Linked DNA regions of Homo sapiens: all the other regions are linked to region 1. Evidence: promoter capture Hi-C in 16 types of primary human blood cells and fetal thymus (Javierre and others, 2016). All regions are on one chromosome and are shown on one strand. Each heading gives the region's core, a stretch centred on a gene start or on the middle of the fragment in contact. The rest is flanking DNA. Distances are from core to core; before and after follow the strand shown. Region 1 holds the start of DEPTOR (DEP domain containing MTOR interacting protein). Region 2 has its middle 52 kb from the start of SNTB1. Region 3 has its middle 11 kb from the start of SNTB1. Region 4 overlaps MTBP (MDM2 binding protein). Region 5 overlaps MRPL13 (mitochondrial ribosomal protein L13).

Region 1 (2,529 bases), core at 14-2,513:
ACAGACATTTAGAAACCAAAACAAGCTGGGGAATTCAGGCTAAGAACTAGAAGTAACAGGGGCCCGCGTACAAGTTGTGGCTCAAACGCTGCAGAGCTGGGTTTTCTTTTTCCTGGCAAACTGATTTATAACCACACGAAGGGCAGCTGCAGAACCAGTTAGACCATAAGTACTATTCCCAAACAGCCCTAGAGGAAGGACCATACAGGGATGGGAATGGCAAGGGGGATTCTGGGGGTCGTCCTTGTTCCCAAGTTCCGTGAGACGCCGCAAGTCTTAATTCTTGCAGGAGCCAGGGTCCCCATGGATCCTGCTGCCCAAAACGTGCGAGCCCGGGGAGTTGGCACAGCCTCAAGGCAGCCCGACAAGGTGCCTCCACGCCCCCTTGCGGACCCAAATGATTGAGGACGATGTGCCAATTAACTGATAGGTGCAGGGTTTCAGAAATGCTCTCTCAGTTTAACCTCACAAAAAGCCCTTGAATCAGCCCTGTTTTACAGATGTAAAACACCGAGGCTCAGGGGAGTGAAGGAAGACTTGTCAGCAAAAAGGAAAACCTAGTGAAGACTATCGTTGGTCTTGCTCCTTTTATCAAGGAGTAGAGGGGCTGGGGTCGCCTCGGGACCCCACAGCGACCCCTCTTGCTCTCTTCGCGGATGAGGCGCAGGCTGTCAGCCGGGAGGCCTGGCGGCGTCCAGGTACACGGGAAGACGGACAGCGCGGTGGGTGGCAGGGACTTTGCCCGGCACAGGACTGCAGCAGCCAGGCTAGGGCGCAGCGCGCACCACCCGCTCGTCGGCTTCTGCCAGGCAGCCCCGCTTGGCGAGCGAGTCCTCAGGGACCGAGGCTGCAGCAGCTAAGCGCGGGCGCACCGAGGACCATCCACGCGCCCGCAGCCGTTCCGGCGCCCCACGCGAGTCGCAAGCCACGAGCCAGGGAGCGCGTGCGCGCAGGACTGCAGCGGGCACGCGTTGGCAGTGCCATCGTGAGCTCACCCGCTGTGTCTCTTGCCTTACCGTAGCTGTTCCCCGGTGACCAAGACCTCAGCCATGCGCTCCAGCTCCCTTTGCTGCGCCCCGCCACTCCCGCTGGTGCTGCTGTCACTGCCAGCACTGCCAGTGCTGCCGCCCTCCTCCATGGTTTTAGGGCCGTGCGGCTACCACTGGCTCCGCTGTCCGCCGAGGGTTTGGGTGCTCGGATCAGTCTGCCCTCACAGACGCTTCCCGCGCCATCTTTGTTCGGGGCAGCTCCGCTGCTCTGACTGGATTGGCTGGAGAGGGAATCCCTATGGGTAGGCAGACGCGCTGGGCTAGTCCGGCCCCAGAAACTTGAGCTTGGGGGCGTGGCTAGAGCCCCTCATGGTCGGGGGGCGGGGCCGATGGAGGAAAATATAAACATCTGGGCGGGGCGCTGCTACTGAGCTGTGTGTGCTGCTGGAGGCTGAATTTGGTGAGCTCTCTTTACCCACAAAGCTCATGCTGTAGAATCCTGGGGACAGGCCTGGAGGTTATTAGTGTGAAGGCGTTTTTATTGTACGTTCCACACCCCAAGTTGCCAGAGAGCAAAACATAATTCAACAATCTGGCCAAATGGTCAACAGTGAAGGTTATACATGTCATTGAAGGGCATGGAGAAATTAAACATTCTTCTCTCCCCAACCTCTCTCTCCAAAGACGACTTGTTTGCCTTATGTTGTAATCAATAAGGAACGCCGGCCTAGGAATCAGGCTGACCTGGGATCCAGCTCCGCTCCTGTGATGTCCTATTTAAATGTGTTTAATCCTCCCTTACAAAATAAAAATAATTGCGGCTACCACTTTTGACATCTGCTGCATTAAAGATACTTCAGGTATGGTATTACCTCGTTTAATTATTACAATAATTCATAAAATAGGTATTGGTGTTCGTTTTGCATTAGAATGCAGGCTTGGAGAGGTGAAGTTACTTGTCTAAGGCAAGCAAATAATAAGTATAAGAAGAGCCGGGCACCGTGGCTCATGCCTGTAATCCCAGCACTTTGGGAGGCCGAGGCGGGCAGATCACCTGAGGTCAGGAGTTCCAGACCAGCCTGACCAACATGAAGAAACCCCGTCTCTACTAAAAATACAAAATTAGCCGGGCGTGGTGGTGCATGCCTGTAATCCTAGCTACTTCGGAGGCTGAGGCAGGAGAATCGCTCGAACCCGGGAGGCGGAGGTTGCTGTAAGCCGAGTTCGGGTGAGCGGAGTTAGTGCCATTGCATTCCAGCCTGGGCAACAAGAGCGAGACTCCGTCTCAAATCATCATAATAATAATAAGAAGAAATCTAACCGAGGCAATTCTGGCTTCAAAGTTATGCTTTGAAAAGACTGAAAGACTGCCTCTTAAAATGGGGATACAATGGTATTGTCTATCCGTAAAAGATTATGAAAAGAAATTTGATTAGTACCAAATAAATGTTCTGATTTTCTGTTTCATGCAGAGTCGGAGTTGGTCTGCAGGAAGGCGAAGTAATGTTTATGGCAGTATTCATGTGTGTTGAGCATTTAT
Region 2 (2,529 bases), core at 22-2,521, 990 kb before region 1:
TGTTTTCCTTCCAGATGAAAAACTTCTTTTAATATCTTTTATAGTGCAAGTCTGCTGTCAATGAATTCTCTTAGCTTTTGCTCATTTGAAAAAGTCTATTTTGCCTTTGTTTTTAAAGCTATTTCCACTGAATAGAGAATTCTAGGTTGGGCCAGGCACAGTGGCTCACACCTGTAATTCCAGCACTTTGGGAGGCCGCGGTGGGCTGATCACGAGGTCAGGAGATAGAGACCAGCCTGACCAACATGGTGAAACATTGTATCTACTAAAAATACAAAAATTAGCTGGGCGTGGTGACGCGCACCTGTAATCCCAGCTACTCAAGAGGCTGAGGCAGGAGAATCCCTTGAACCTGGGAGGTGGAGGTTGCGATGAGCCGAGATCACGCCACTGCACTCCAGCCTGGGTGACAGAGCGAGACTCCACCTCAAAATAATAATAATAATCATCATCATCATCATCACCATCATAAATAAAAAAAGAATTTTAGGCTGATAGCTTTTTTATTTTTTCTTTCAGGGCTTTAAAGACGCCATTCTATTGTCTTCTGGCCTACAATGTGTCAGACTAGAAGTCTGCCTATTATTATGATTTACTCTGTATACAGTGTCTGGCTGCTTTCAAGATTTATTTTTTATCATAGGCTTCCAACAATTTTATTATAATATGCCTTGATATGGTTTTCATTGTGTTTATCCTGCTTAAGGTTCTGTTGAGCATCTTGGATATATAGATTTACCATTTTCAACAAATTTGCAAAAATTTTTGCCAGTATTTCTTCAAATAATTTTATGTGTGAACTTATCTTTCCCCTTTTATTAAGCTTAAATCACACATACGTTGACATTCAATGTTGTCCCCTGAGTCACTAAGGCTCTGTTTATTTTGTTCAATTTTTTCTCCCTCTGTGCTTCAGTTTGCATGGTTTCTATTGCTATGCTTTCAAATTCAGTAATTTTTTTTCTTGCATTCTTGGTGTTAATCAGTTGTTAATCTCCTCCAGTGAAATTTTCCATTCATGTATTATCCCATTTCTAGAAGTTCCAGTTTTAATCCTTCATCCCACTCCTTGTTAGGCTATGTTTCCCTTTAAATTTTAAAGGTATTTGTAAAGCTCTTTTAAGGTTCTTTTCTGTCAATTCCATTGCCTTTGCCAGTTTTTAAAATCTGTTTCTGGTGACTGATGCTTTTTGTAATAGAATAGACTTTAATTTACATTTTAATTAAATATATTTGTATAATATATAATATAATATTTGTTATTTTATTATAATATAAATTGTGATGCTTCTGTAATCAATTGAGTTGTTCTACTTCTTCAAATGCTTACTATTCTTAATTAGATTCTGGACATTGTACATGTTACACTGCTAAGAATACGTTTGCACAACCTCAGATATCACCATTGCCTGCATTACCCTGGCTAACAAGGAAGTCTTGAGTCTGTCCACATATCCAGTGCATTACTACTACAATCCTATTTATCACCAAGAAATCTCAGAGTCTGCGGCACTACCCTCTAACCTGCATCAGAACTGACGCTGGTACCCACTACTAAGAGCCTAGAGGGAACATCACATCCCTGGATTCCCTACACACACACACACACACACACACACACACACACACACATCAAATGTTCCTTTTTTTTTATTCTAGCAAACTTTTAAGTTACTTGTTGATCAGCTTGAGCTTTTCAAACTTTTCCTATAAGCTTTGTTACAGCAGGTTTCAAGTGTCCTTTACTGTAGAACTAGATTTTCACTCTTGAAAGGCATGACCCTCTAGTGTTTCCCCCTGAATACCTCAAAGCTTTAACAAGGGCTCCTTACTATGGTTGACCAGAACACAAACATCTCCTAGCCCTGCGTGTACTCTAGAAACTCTTCAACTTACGATTTCTTGTTTGTTCTTTACCCAGTCTCATGTAGTCTCACCCTTCACAACTGTGGTTTAGTATTCAAGGGGGTCTTCATACAGATTTTGGAGCTCTTTCTCTGGGCAGCTCCTCAATCTCTGGTTTTACTCGTTAAATTCCAGATGTCTCACTCTTTCTAAATTCCAATTGCTCTCCTTCTACGTGCTATCTGGAAAGTGCTTCTGGACAGAAAGTCAGATGAACATAATGTTCACTGATTTGGTTCAGCTGGGTCCCCACTCAAATACCATCTTGAATTGTTGTTCCCATAATCCCCACGTGTCATGAGAGAAACCGGTGGGAGGTAATTGAATCATGGTGGCGGTTTCCCTCGTACTATTCTCGGGATAGTGAGTAAGTTCTCACAAAATCTGATGGTTTTACAAGGGGCTTCCCCCTTCACTCAGTTATCATTATGCTCCTTCCTACCACCATGTAAAGAAGGATGTGTTTGCTTCCCCTTCTGCTATGATTGTAAGTTTCCTGAGGCCTCCCCAGCTCTGCAGAACTGTGAGTCAATTAAACCTCTTTTCTTTATAAATTACCCAATCTTGGGTATTTCTTCATAGAAGTGTGAGAAGGAACTAATGCATTCACCTTGCTTATTTCCC
Region 3 (2,529 bases), core at 17-2,516, 950 kb before region 1:
TTCTGGAAAGAAAGTAAAAGGCAGTAAAAGGTTTTGCAATCTTACTGAAATTTCTACTGCAATGTAACACTGATCGGACTTGGGGGCATTGGGGTTGGTGACTAAGAGGAACAGCCACAATTTTTTAACCTTTCAGGAAGCCTAAAGGACAGAATTTAAAGCATAGCCATGTAAGGCTGACAGACTCACTCTTCAGAAGAGAAGTTAATCCTCTTGGGGGCTTCCCTTTAAAAATAATTTTAAAGGCCCTGACTCAGAGAATCAGGAATGTAAAATTTGAGTTTCAATTGACTGAAGCCCAGTGGAAAGGGGACAAGATGTGGACTCTGTCAAACTTAAGTCTGAATTCCAATCCTTCCACTCACACTTAATGTGACCTTGAGCAGGTTTCTTCATCTCTCTGTGTTCCAAGTCTCCATTTATGAAACTGGGATGACTTCTGCTTTACAGAGTTGATATGAGGCTTGCATGAGAAGATATGGCAAACTGGTTAATTGCAGGCCCTCTCAAATGTTGGTTCAGATTCTCTTTTTTATTTCCTTTGTTTATAATTATGATAGCCACCATAGCATAGACTGGAATGTCTATTACATTTATGAGCCATCTAATGACGTTTCAGTCAAGGAAGGACCACATACATGACAGTGATCCCGTACAATTGTGTTATAATTGTCTAACATGCTATACAATTTTGTAGTCTAGGAATTAGTCCATAGCCTAGGTGTGTGGTAGGCTACAGCATCTAGATTTGTTTAAGTACCTTCTATGCTATTTGCACAAGAAATTGCCTAACAATGTATTTCTTAATACATATCCCCATCATTAAGTGATACCTGACTGTATTTGCCAGACTGGCGCCCCTTACCCTAACTTCCAGATTTACCTGCTTTTAAAGTTGCTCCAGTCCTTTTCTAAGCATTTTAAGACATTGGAGCAGGTGTTATTCTTTTTTTGTAAATGGTCAAGTTACAAATATTTTAAGCTTTGCAGGCCTTATGGTCTCTGTCAGGATTACTCAACCCTGCCTGCCATTGTAGCATGAATGGTAGCCATAGACAACATGTAAACGAATGTGTGTGGTTGTGTTCCAATGAAACTTTATGAAATCAAGTAGCTAGTCCATGGAAAATAGTTTGCCAGTCTTTGCACTTTACTATGAAACTTCAGCATCCTGTACACATTGAAACTGTAATGCCTTAGGATAAAAATTTCAGTTTGTTTTAGGAAAGAGAGGGAGGCAAGGGAAAAGGGAGAAAAGAAATAGCTGAAGAATTCAATGTGAATTTATATTCATTACACTATTATTTTAACTAAATATAGAGAAAATAATCTTTCCACTTGTCTTAAGCTATTTACTTTAGGCTGTTTACCACTTATTAGCTCAGTGATCTCAGACATAGTAAGACTAGTTAATATTTATTGATCACTTACTCTAGGTAAGTCCTGTGTCAAGTGCCTTACATGCACGATTTTATTTAATCTTTAAAATAATCCTATGAGATAAAAATAATTTGGAAACACTATTTTAAAGCCAAGTAAATGGAAGCTTAGAAAAGTTACTTTTCCTAGTATTACAGAGTCAGTAAATTAAGTAACTGGAATTTATATCTAGGTAGTTTGACTTCACAGTTGTTCAACCTGAGTTTTATTATACATAAAAATAAATTATCATTCTATATCTTACTGGTTTCTTGGAAAGACTACAACAGAGAAAGTATCTGAAAATACCTGAGTAACAATCATGGGGCACTAAATCAGTTCCTTTCTGTTTTTCTAGTCTACTAAGCATTCACAATTATCCAGCAATATTTTTTTTTAAGAGACAGGGTCTCACTCTGTCACCCAGACTGGAGTGCAGTGGTGTGATCATGGCTAACTGCAGCCTGGACATCTTGGGCTCAAGTGATCCTTTCTACTCAGCCTCCCAAGTAGCTGTGACTACAGGTTTGTGCCACCACACCCAGCTAATGTTTATTTATTTTATTTTATTTTTGTAGAGACAGGGTTTTGCTATGTTGCCCAGGCTGGTCTTGAACTTCTGACCTCAAGTAATCATCCCGCCTTGGCCTCCCAAAATGCTGGGATTACAGACATGAGACAACATGCCCAACCATTTATTAAATATTTGTTGAGTACCCTCTATCTTCTTGGGTTTGACTGATCTAGAACCACTGATTCCTTGGTAGAGGAAATTTCAGTGTTGGCTTGGCAAAAGAAATTGTTTCTTTAGCCAAGGATATATGATCCTGAAGAGTCTTTGGCCTTGAGTTTCCATGATGTATCTTCTTAATCTTTCTTAAAATGCTATCTTATCTGCATCAGAATCCTGTTGATAAAATTTACATTTTCAGACACTAAGATCGCAATCATCAGAATGTTTTGAGGTGGGGCTCAGGTTTCTGCATTATTATCCCCAACTCTATTTTGAAAAAAAAAATTTAACCTACAAAAAGTTGAATCATACAGCATAAACCCATTTATTCATTACTAGATTCTCTTACTGCTAATTTTTCCACATTTGGATCTCTT
Region 4 (2,529 bases), core at 15-2,514, 590 kb before region 1:
GTCATTGTGGAAATCATGTTTCTAGCTTGCAAATTCCTCTCTCTGAAGAAATATTTCCCAGCCAGAAGATTAGTGAACATCATAACTCCCTAACAATCCTATCTTGTCTTTTCCTAATCTAGCTTAATTATTAGTAAAATAAGCTTTACTCCAAGAAGTTTTTACTTATATTCTGGGGCTAATCATAGTTACATAGATAAATAATTTGTTTAAGCTAAGATGCTGACTGAAGATCACACAAAGCAATAGAATTTAAGCACCATGAAAGTTTCTTGAGAAAGGGCCTGTCCATCTTATTCTATCCAATATTACAAACAAGCATCTGGCAGATAGCAGCAGTAAAAACATTTTTAAAAAAATTAATTGTTTAATAAATGAAACCCAAGGTATTTATTTATTTATTTTTTGAGACGGAGTCTCGCTCTGTTGCCCAGGCTCGAGTACAGTGGCGTGATCTTGGCTCATTGCAACCTCCACCTCCTGGGTACAAGTGATTCTCCTGCCTCAGCCTCCCGCATAGCTGGGACTACAGGCAAGCGCCTCCTTGCCCGGCTAATTTTTTGTATTTTTAGTAGAGATGGGGTTTCACCATGTTGGCCAGGCTGGTCTCAAACTCTTGACCTCAGGTGATCCACCTGCCTCGGCCTCCCAAAGTGCTGGAATTAAAGGCGTGAGCCACCGCGCCCAGCTGAAACCCAAGTTATAAAGCACTAGATTTCAAAGAACTGGTATGTAATTAAACACTTTTTCAAAAATGTGAAAAATGACCAGGTGCAGTGGCTCACACCTGTAAAGCCAGCACTTTGGGAGGCCGAGGTGGGTGGGTCACTTGAGGTCAGGAGTTCAAGACCAGCCTGGCCAACATGACGAAACCCTGTCTCCACTAAATATACAAAAAAAAATTAGCCAACCATGGTGGTGTATGCTTGTAGTTCTAGGTAGTTGAGTGGCTGAGCCGGGAGAATTGCTTGAACCCGGGAGACGGAGGTTGCAGTGAGCCAAGATCACACCATTGCACTCCAGCCTGGGCAATAGAGCGAGACTCCGTCTAAAAAAAAAAAAAAAAAAAGAGTAAAAAACAAATCATAACTCAATGTTTAAGAAAAATAAATTACTTCATATTTAGATTTGTTTTCTAAGTTACATAATATATGGCTTCAAAAATAATCCCTTTTGCTGCATTGAACTGGGAACATAGTTATAAAGTCTCTATTTCTTACTAATAAAGTATGTTGTAATATTTTACAATCATGGTTTGAGAAGAAAAAATGATAATCTAATACAACAAATTTAAAACAAAACAACTGAAAATATATTATTAAACATTAATAGTTTAGGGTGCTTCTAGGATTAGTGTTGCCTATCTTCAATAACTAGATGGACTAATGCTTATGTTACACCTGTGTTAAACTATAGGTACAGATCTCATTTTGACTTGAAATAGTCTCTATAAATTAGCCAGGCATGGTGGCACATGCCTGTAATCCCAGCTACTTGGGAGGCTGAGGCAGGAGAATCACTTGAACCCGGGAGGCAGAGGTTGCGGTGAGCTGAGATCGCGCCACTGCTCTCCAGCCTGGGTGACAGAGCGAGACTCCGTCTCAAAAAAAAAAAAAAAAAAAAAAGTCTCTATAAGATTTCTACAAATTTCTCTGTAAAATTTCTATAAATTTCATCATACCTTCAAATTACTTAGAGAATATCTAATATCTAGCGCTTTATACTTTTAAGGAAACTGCTTCACATATGTGTGTCCATCATTTGGGCCACATAAACTTCAAAGACAATAAAAAATTAGTTAGCAACCATCATTTATATCATACTTGGTAGTTTATAAAATACATTTCAATTTGGTTTTTATTACAACTCTGAAATAGGTAACAGAGGGATTATTATTTCCAGTTTACAATATTAAGAGCTGTAAGCCAGTGAGTGGCATAGCTATGGCTTAAAGTCAAGTTTTCTAAAAAACATGCTCTTCTATTTAAGACTTTCTACTATACCATCTATATTCCTTTCCTCCCTTATTTGGCAATATAGATAATTAATGATAAATAACAATTTTCTCAATCCATACAAGGAAGCATCTCCAAAAAATTAGGTGACTGGACAGGGATATACAGAGAGCTACTTGGCTACCTGGATTAAAATAGAAGCAGGGTATTTTTTATTCTCAGTGCACTTAAAAAATATATACTAATTCATAAGCTGTCTCTGCAAATAGTTTGGAGAAATGTATGGCCTTATTAATCTCTATCTAAACTAGGGTCTCTTGACTTATTCCCTATCTCAGGCTGTTTATTTCTTCATAATTCTTATTATGTCTGTAGTTATTTATTTTCTGTTGGTCCCCTAAAATGTAAGTTCCACAAATACAGAAGCTTCTTCTGTACACTTCATTACTGGGTTCCCGAAATCTAGTATAGTACCTCATACACAGTAGAATATATGTTGGATAAATGATAAAAGATAAATTTTAAAATTTCAAAATTTAGTAAATTAGTTATTCTTAGAGGATGAAAGCCAGGT
Region 5 (2,529 bases), core at 21-2,520, 530 kb before region 1:
TATAAAGGCAGTTTTTGCTAGTGACAAGTATCTGCAAAATAGATAGTTGTTACAGAACATTTGATAGCTATGGAAAGTTTAGCACAATTTAGAGAATGAATTAAGGAAAGTTTTATGTTAGCTATTTCTTAGATGATTCATTAATCTCCCAAGTATATTTTAAGCACATAAATGAAAATTTAAAACTTTCGTCTTTCACTTCAAAGATCAAAGCTTGTGTGTGTTTCATATATTTTTATATATAAGTATACTATATATAAATTGTATATAAAATATATATCATAGCTGTATTAGATAACAATTACACACACACACACACACACACACACACACACACACATGCACACATATATAATCCACTGTTAGAAACTGCTTTATAAAGATGAGGACTGGGTCCTGCTCACTACTTTATTCCCGGCGCCCACAGCAGGACCTGACCAGTCAATTTGTTGAATAAATGAATGCATGAATGGAATCATATCCTCCCTGAAAGGGAAATTGATGTTCAGTTCATGAAGTGTGATAAATTCATGTTTTGGGTTTTGCTCCTTACTTAAATCTTGTCTAACTATAACTAAAATAGACATTTTTCTTAACAGGCCTTACTTTAATGCAACTCTAATATATACAATTTTGGATACTTTGTATTACATGTCTAAAGAACAATCATGGTAATTTCATTAAAATACAACTTATATTTCTGTCAAGGAGTAAATTTGTATAATTTATATGAAAAAAATTGACAGGTGTTAGCTTTCAGAAATGGCATTTGAAATATCCCTCTAAAGATTTCCTGTGATTATTTTAGAATACTGTTATTATTTACAAATATATTAACCTTATATAACATTAACGCACATTTTAAAACTACATAATTTGTTATTTCCAATGAAACAGTGACAAAGAAGTAGGGCTAATGTACAATATACATTCACCTATCATCCCTCTTTTAAAAGATTAAGCCGTTTCATTTAAGTTTCAAATATTTAAGCATTCATAGTATGAAAAGTAATGTGCTAGATGCCACCCTTCTTGTTTTTAAAAACTATTTAATCTAGTGAAGAGATTAGGTCACCTCAGCACAAAATAGGGTATGTAAGCAACATAATCTGAGAATTCAATTCTAGTTTGCATGTTACCATATATGGGTTACCAACTTTTAAAGAACCTAAATACATTTGCTGAGTACTAAAGCTGCTTGAACTACAGTTTGGGAGAAAAGAACCAGGAAAGATACTGTGTATCAAATGGAGTCATCTCTAGTTTAGGAAGAAGTATGTGTGTTACCTTCTGTTAGATAGTATTAGTAATTTCTTACTGAAGGTGCTCCTCTGTCTTATAAATAGCTCTGTCTTTGGTCTAAGGGGAACCCATGCTAATTAGAATGTGGTCCATAAACCAGCAATGCATCAAGTGGGAACTTGTTAGGATTGCCAAATCGTGAGCCCCTCCACAGAATAAGTGAAATCAGGACCTGCATTCTCATAAGAATCCAAGCAATTTGTATGCCTGCTGAAGTTTGAGAAACACAGACATAAATAGCCCTCTCCTCCCCTTTCTTATATTACCTTGAATTTCGTTGTTTTAGTGGAAAGGAATAAGCAATACAGAAAAGTTGTGTGTATGCTTGTTTTCATTTCTGTTTGAGACAGAGAGAAGTAAAACCATATTTAGTGTAAAAACCTCTCTTTTCCCCACAGGGGAACCTCCTGAAAAATGTGTATCATTAATTGCCTCCAGTATGAGTTGATGTTTCCAGCTGTGCCACTATCTTAACTATCTAGTCTTTGGCCATGATACTGCTTTTCCCCCTTTGGAAGCAAATTAACCATCTGGAAAATATCCCGATTATTTAAAGATGAATTTGCACATGAAGTGGCATTTTCAAGGGGGTCACTGTACTCTGTACTGTGCTCAGATATACTAGGCATCCACTGTGTATCAGGCATTACCGTGGCTGCTGGGAGTATAAGATAATCATATCAGGGCCCTGCCTTCAAAGGACTGGCAGCCTAAGAGGCATCATATAGAATAAAATGGTGCTTGCAAGCACCGGAGTCAAATTGTTTACACTCAGATCCCTGCCATCTACCTCCTAGCTGTGTATCCTTAGCCAAGTTACTGAGCTACTCTGAGCCTAAGTTTTGTCACTGTAGAATGAAACTAATAACAGTGTCTTTCTTACAAAGTAGTTGTGAGGATAAAATAATTCATGTGAAGTCTTTATTATACTTTGTGGCATCTAATGAGCACTCAGCATGTGTTATTTACAAGGAAGAGCCAGTATGATTAGAGAAACATTGTAGTAGAAGCATGCATTAAGCTTTCTGGCAATCCTAGAGAAAGGAGCCCAGTCTGTGTTAGAAAGGAATTGTTGTGAAGAGCTTGACAGAAAATGTAACGTTTGAGGTGGATTTTGAAAGATTAGTCATGGTTGCCAGGCAGAGAAAAGACAAAGAGGAAATTTGCTTTGAGGTCAATGTCCACATTCCTTTATGTGGTGGATTATACCATTCAATTTTACTTCTA

What was found. The method cuts DNA at HindIII sites, captures the fragments that hold promoters and counts their contacts. A CHiCAGO score of 5 or more calls a contact.
Region 2: a fragment that was not itself captured here is called in contact with the fragment with the promoter of DEPTOR in region 1 in 4 of 17 cell types (naive CD8 T cells, naive B cells, total B cells and 1 more); the score reaches 12.0 in naive CD8 T cells.
Region 3: a contact is called between a fragment that was not itself captured here and the fragment with the promoter of DEPTOR in region 1, in 1 of 17 cell types (naive B cells). The highest score is 5.7, in naive B cells.
Region 4: a fragment that was not itself captured here is called in contact with the fragment with the promoter of DEPTOR in region 1 in 6 of 17 cell types (naive B cells, naive CD8 T cells, total B cells and 3 more); the score reaches 8.5 in naive B cells.
Region 5: a fragment that was not itself captured here is called in contact with the fragment with the promoter of DEPTOR in region 1 in 6 of 17 cell types (naive B cells, endothelial precursors, megakaryocytes and 3 more); the score reaches 8.2 in naive B cells.

The regions. Positions count from the first base shown.
Region 1 is chr8:119,872,456-119,874,984 of GRCh38, reverse strand. It overlaps DEPTOR (DEP domain containing MTOR interacting protein), which reads right to left and starts at 1,263. Exons shown (of 9, transcript NM_022783.4): 1 at 1,017-1,263. The coding sequence starts at 1,138. RefSeq lists enhancers at 526-575, 666-765, 400-900, 966-1,225, 901-1,401 and 1 more and a silencer at 1,245-1,417. The HindIII fragment of the contact is 2,864 bases long and covers 1-2,529 here.
Region 2 is chr8:120,862,952-120,865,480 of GRCh38, reverse strand. No RefSeq gene overlaps it. Among named protein-coding and RNA genes, the nearest start is that of SNTB1, 52 kb to the right of the region's middle. The HindIII fragment of the contact is 891 bases long and covers 826-1,716 here.
Region 3 is chr8:120,822,221-120,824,749 of GRCh38, reverse strand. No RefSeq gene overlaps it. Among named protein-coding and RNA genes, the nearest start is that of SNTB1, 11 kb to the right of the region's middle. The HindIII fragment of the contact is 564 bases long and covers 985-1,548 here.
Region 4 is chr8:120,464,752-120,467,280 of GRCh38, reverse strand. The region is part of intron 10 of MTBP (MDM2 binding protein); the gene reads right to left. Among named protein-coding and RNA genes, the nearest start is that of MTBP, 21 kb to the right of the region's middle. The HindIII fragment of the contact is 2,238 bases long and covers 146-2,383 here.
Region 5 is chr8:120,404,367-120,406,895 of GRCh38, reverse strand. The region is part of intron 6 of MRPL13 (mitochondrial ribosomal protein L13); the gene reads left to right. Among named protein-coding and RNA genes, the nearest start is that of MRPL13, 40 kb to the left of the region's middle. The HindIII fragment of the contact is 2,110 bases long and covers 216-2,325 here.